Regions from separate parts of the Homo sapiens genome. Here region 1 is linked to region 2. Evidence: promoter capture Hi-C in 16 types of primary human blood cells and fetal thymus (Javierre and others, 2016). All regions are on one chromosome and are shown on one strand. The core of a region is centred on a gene start or on the middle of the fragment in contact, and the rest is flanking DNA. Distances in the headings are between cores, read along the strand shown. Region 1 holds the start of WFDC13 (WAP four-disulfide core domain 13). Region 2 holds the start of MATN4 (matrilin 4).

What was found. Contacts are between HindIII fragments. The CHiCAGO score rates a contact against its expected background, and 5 or more counts as called.
Region 1: a contact is called between the fragment with the promoter of WFDC13 here and the fragment with the promoter of MATN4 in region 2, in 2 of 17 cell types (M1 macrophages and M2 macrophages). The highest score is 6.0, in M1 macrophages.

The regions. Positions count from the first base shown.
Region 1 is chr20:45,700,731-45,703,430 of GRCh38, forward strand. It overlaps WFDC13 (WAP four-disulfide core domain 13), which reads left to right and starts at 1,308. Exons shown (of 4, transcript NM_172005.2): 1 at 1,308-1,481. The coding sequence starts at 1,394. The region is part of intron 2 of WFDC10B (WAP four-disulfide core domain 10B); the gene reads right to left. The HindIII fragment of the contact is 1,162 bases long and covers 436-1,597 here.
Region 2 is chr20:45,306,905-45,309,604 of GRCh38, forward strand. It overlaps MATN4 (matrilin 4), which reads right to left and starts at 1,395. Exons shown (of 10, transcript NM_001393530.1): 1 at 1,271-1,395. It overlaps RBPJL (recombination signal binding protein for immunoglobulin kappa J region like), which reads left to right. Exons shown (of 12, transcript NM_014276.4): 1 at 1-40; 2 at 1,239-1,347; 3 at 2,663-2,700. The coding sequence starts at 19. The HindIII fragment of the contact is 1,069 bases long and covers 578-1,646 here.

The DNA.
Region 1 (2,700 bases), core at 58-2,557, 390 kb after region 2:
GGAAACAAGAAGTTTTCATTTTAAATCAGGTATCAGACAAAAATACACACTATCACCACTTACATATGATGTACTCAAGGGCCTAGCGAGCACAGTGAGGCATTAAAAATGGCATAAAGTTTGAAGAAGAAAACTATAACTGCTTATTTGCCTATGATAAACACTGAAGAGAACACACAAAGAAACCATAATAAACAATGGGAGAATTTAGCAAGCTAACTAGTTACAAATTTGTGGAAAGAAGAAAAGATCCAAGCTTTAAAGAGAGGAAAGCAAGTTTGAAATAGTATTTGTAGAAAGTGGGAACACTGGCTTACTGAAGAAACTTAGTAAGATTGCCAGACCCTTTTTGGTTTGGTGATGGTGCATCTATTGTGCTGTTTAGTAGCCCAGTTGAGTTATTTTCCCCCAGCAACAATTATCTGCCTAGGTTCAAGCTTCAATGAAATTGATGGTTGGATTCATTCAGGGTTGCAGTTTTTGTAGGTAGATTCAAGCAAGGAGATTTAAATGACAGGTTCTGAGTCCTACATTGATAGAAAGAAAAGTAAACGCCTATAGGGGAGGACTACGAAATAGGGAAGTGAAGAGTCAATGTTTATTGGTTTCAGTGAGGTCAAATAATTGTCATGGTGGAGATTTTTGAGCAAACTGGAAAGTTAACTTCTCTACATTAGCAGTAAACAAAAGGAATTAGTTGAAAAGTTATGATAACATTTACAATTTCCTTTTAAAAACTTCAAGCCTCAGACCAGGCGCGGTGGCTCACACCTGTAATCCTAGCACTTTGAGAGGCTGAGGAGGGCAGATCACCTGAGGTCAGGAGTTCAAGACTAGCCTGGATAACACAGTGAAACCCCATCTCTACTAAAAATACAAAAATTAGCTGGACATGGTGGTACACGCCTGTAATCCCAGCAACTCAGGAGTCTGAGACACAAGAATTGCTTGAACCTGGGAGGAAGAGGCTGCAGTGAGCAGAGATCGCACCACTGCACTCCAGCCTGGGTGACAGAGCCAGACTCCATCATCTCAAAAAAAAAAAAAAAAAATTCAATCCTCTGTGAATAAATATAACATGTACAATTTCCACAGGGGAAAATTATAAAAAAATGTTAAGGGACATGAATAAGATCTAGATACAGATGAAAGAGATAGCAAGGTCAAGATTAGGGGAATAAAGGAGGATATGAAAACACTACGTGACCCTGGAGTGGGTGTGATTGGGAGGTGCTTGGATTCCTGCCCTGCCGGTTTTGATTGGAGTACACGGTGAAAGGCTAGTCACACTGGGCCTCCACTTTGCCCTCTTTCCTTCTCTTCTCCTCACAGCAGTGCCTGGTCAAACCCAGCAACCCTTGGCCAGAACTTACTCACCCATCCCACTGACACCATGAAGCCTGTGCTGCCTCTCCAGTTCCTGGTGGTGTTCTGCCTAGCACTGCAGCTGGTGCCTGGGAGTCCCAAGCAGCGTGTTCTGAGTAGGTGCTGGATCTGGGCCCAAGGAGGGAAGTAACATGTGTGGATAGGAGAGGATCTGAGGGCTGACAGTCTGTCACACCTCTTGGAAAAATACCGTGTCATGTTCAAGGGCCCAAGCTTTATTGTTGGCAAGATCTAGGTTTGAATCCCTGCTCTGTTGCTGAGTGACCTTGGGCATAGTATCTGGGCCTCAGGTTTTTATCCTTATAATGAATACAGGAGGAGAACAGATAATGCATGCAGACATAGCTCACTCTTACTAAACCATGGTAAATGCTCAGTAATATTAAATGCTGTAAATGTGATCAGCCTCATCATCCAGCTTAGTCTTGCTGCCCGTGGCTCCTTCATGGATGCTTGGACTCACTTTTCAAGCAATAAAACAGAGAGACAACGAAGTTGGTAGAACTCAAGCTAGAATCTACATAACCTTGGCCTTGGAGGATGTTTTGGGAAGGAGGGAAAGGAAGTCTTGCCTTTTATTCCACATTTTCAAACTCCAGAGGTACTGTACAATTACCGGTAATTAGCATCAATGGGACAGTGTAGAGTCCATCTCAGCAGCCACCACTGCCCAGCTCAACTCAAAAGAGCTCTGGCTCTAGTAATGTTGACCTTAACCAATACCAAGTGGGAAAAGAACTGTTATTCATCATACATCCACTCTTCTATGGGGAAAACATCTTCAGAATACTGGCGGCTCAGAAGAGGGATAAGTGTGGTAGCTCATGTGTCTGGGGAGGCTAGGTCCTGCTTAAGAAGTTTCAGAAAAGGCATGCAGGTTTGTAGGACTAAGAGGGACTAAGCAAGCTACAAGAAAATAGGAGTGCCCAGGGTAGAGTTAATTGGAGAATCAGAATTTGAGGAAAGGCACAAAGAGGCTTTCTAAAAGACTGGTAAATGCTGTGAGTGAAGTTGGGACCAGATACCCAGAAGAGGGGTCAAGACTTGAAAAGGGTGACCTCTCTGAGATCTCTGGATCATGGTGTCTATCTCTAAACTGCTCTGTTGAGCCCCAAGCTCTTCAAAGTGTGGATTAGTTCCAATTTCTTGCAGTGCCCCAGTGAGCTATAGAATAGCTGAGAGGCCAGGGGTGAGTACTAGTTATTGGTCTCTGTTAAATTGTCAACAGCTTGAACCTCAGCTTCTTTTACCCCAATTCTGGTGCCATTTGCTACTACAGTTATAGTCATGACCTCTTTCTTCATTCATTCCTTT
Region 2 (2,700 bases), core at 145-2,644:
GGGCCCCGTGGAGCCACCATGGACCCCGCAGGGGCAGCAGGTGAGCGCTTACCCTCCCGAGGCCCCGGAGACGCCCCGTGAGAACTACGAAGGACCACCCCCCCACCCCCTCCCCACTATACAAATAGGAAAACTAAGCCCCAAGGAGGCAGCCCGCCGAACTGCAAAAGCAGGATTAGAACCTAGGGCTCCTGGTTCCCCTTCTCTCTCTTGAGGCCCCCTGGCGCCTAGAATTCACTAAACCTCATTTCCTTCCAGCTCCTACCCCACCGCCGCGCCCCATGCTGAAGCTGTGTTAGCCATTTTTCTGTTGCTGTTTCTTGGCAGAGAGGGCCAGCTGCCCCTAACCCAACAGCAGCTCCGCCCCCGCCCCCCAATTCCGTGAATGCGCCTATTCTGAGCGAGGCCAGTGCCTGCTTCTCACTCCAGGCGACCTTCTCATCCCGGATTCTTCTCCCTTTTCCCCTCCCAGGCCTGGTAGAAGAACATAAATCCTCTGGCAGGGCCCGTCGTGGGAGGGTGACCAAGCAAGATGTGGCAGCGCTGGTGGAAGTGGGAGGGCGGGGAACCCTTGTCAAGCTTGGGCCACAGGCAAAGCCAACATCCCTGGACAGCATGAGGGCTAAGGCACAAGGGGCCTCTGCCACCTCCCATACTTTCCTACCCGGAGATGCCTCTGGGCCCCTAAATCTTGGTTAAGGTTCCCCTCATCCCATTCTTGGTCTGAGCCAACTTCTCACCTGGCACCCTGCCTCCACCCCAGGAATCCTAGAAAGTCAAAATAGCAAATGCCTCAAAGTTCATCACCTTTCCAAACCCCTCATTCTACAAAGAAAGGAACTAGGTCCAGAGAGGGTAGTGTCTTGCTGAAGGGTACATGGCGATGTCGTGGCAGGACTGATACTAGAACCTGGGATTCCTCTGAGGAGTTAATCCTTGCATTAAAAAAAGAAAGATTCAGAGATGCCCTGAGGTGAGGTTGAGGGAGTGGAGCAGCAAGGGAGGAGAGGCCTGTAAATAAATTCTCAAAAGTCCCTTAGGGACATTTCAGGGGGTTCCTGGAGGGATGAGAGTAGAAAAGGGATGATCCTATTTTGATGGCTTTGAGGGTGGGGGCTCGATTTGGAAAGGACCCTGCAGAAGTGGGGAAGGGCACTGCAAATCAGATAGGGCACCCTAGGCAGCGTCTCTGCTAAAATACACTCGCCTGACCTGGCTTGATGCCTACTCCCCTGCAGACCCCTCAGTGCCTCCCAATCCTTTGACTCACCTGAGCCTGCAGGACAGATCAGAGATGCAGCTGCAGAGCGAAGCCGACAGGCGGAGCCTCCCGGGCACTTGGACCAGGTAACGGCGGCGTGGCAGCGTGCCCTAGGTGGGGACTGCCAGGCAGCTGGAGCACACAGAGGCAACGGCCGCATTTAACCCAGGGCTGGCGGGTGGGGAGGGGAAGTGCAGGCTGCAACCCCTCCCACTGGCAGGGAGGGATCCCCCCTTCCTCCTGAGGGGGGGCAAACCCAGCACCCCCTGCTCCTACCACGCTTGGAGCTGCAGACAGGGCTAGCTGCGGGCCAGGCTGGAATTCAGCTACAGCGGGAGACTGGGGAGACCGGGGCAGCCACACTCCACAGCCGGAATTCATTGGAAGCTTAGAAGGCACTTCCCTGAGGAGAGCCCCAAGGGGTGGAGCGGTCCTGGCTGTGGCTGCTGCCTGTCTGGCCTGGCTTTCGAGGGTGCGGTCTTGCGCTGTCCCCTCCAGGAGTGAGGAGAGACTCTGGTCCTGCCAAGAGGAATAAGGGCTCAGAAGGACAGCCTCAGTTTTCATGGCTCTCCTTGGGCCTCAACCTGCTAACCCCCCAAATCTCTCCCACCTCCCCTCCTCTACTTGCTCCCTGCAATTGCTCGGGCCTACCCACCCACACCGCTCAAGACCCCCAGGTTAAGAAGCCACCAGACCTCTAGGCTCTAACCTGGCTCACTCTGCAGGACCAATGTCATCTGCCTTGACTCCTGTAATCAAGGGTAGGAAAGCCCACACAGCAACAGGCCACTTCTCATGGGAGAAAGGGAAGAATATGGCTTTGGCCCCAGAAAGGCTCAGATTCCCCCAGGCCATCCCCCATCCTGAGGACAAGGTTTTGGGCCCTTTTCTGTTTGCAGGCAGGAGGCTAGAGAGCGCTCCAGGCCAGGAGCCCAGGAAAGGCTCTCCCTTCCCCTCCCTCCTCACCCCCCACCCTGCCTTCCCCAGGGTGGGGAAGCTTCATCTCTACCAATTCCATCAGCCCTAAAATACTCTTCTCCATCCCAAGGCCAGTATAAGTGCAGCCTTTGTGTCACAGCCACGTGTCCCTATGGCCCTGGGCTCCAATGGGCATGATGCCAGACCCACAGAGTGGAACCTGGGTGGTCCCATGGGTTCCATGCAGGCTTCGTTGAGCACCTTGCAGCCTAAATATTTAGCCTACAATTTGCAGCCAAGTCTCCTCCTTACCTAATGCTTCCTCTTCCTGACCCCACAGGGGCAGGATATAGAGCAGCCCCACCCTCCCACTCACTCTAACCCCCTGCTCACTTCATTTTACTCAACCTGAGTGCTTGGACCCTGTGCCACCTTGACCCTTCTCCCTCCTGTGGCTGGTCGACCTGCCTGCCCTACTCCCAGGTCATCCCCAGAGCACACCACCATTCTGAGGGGAGGCG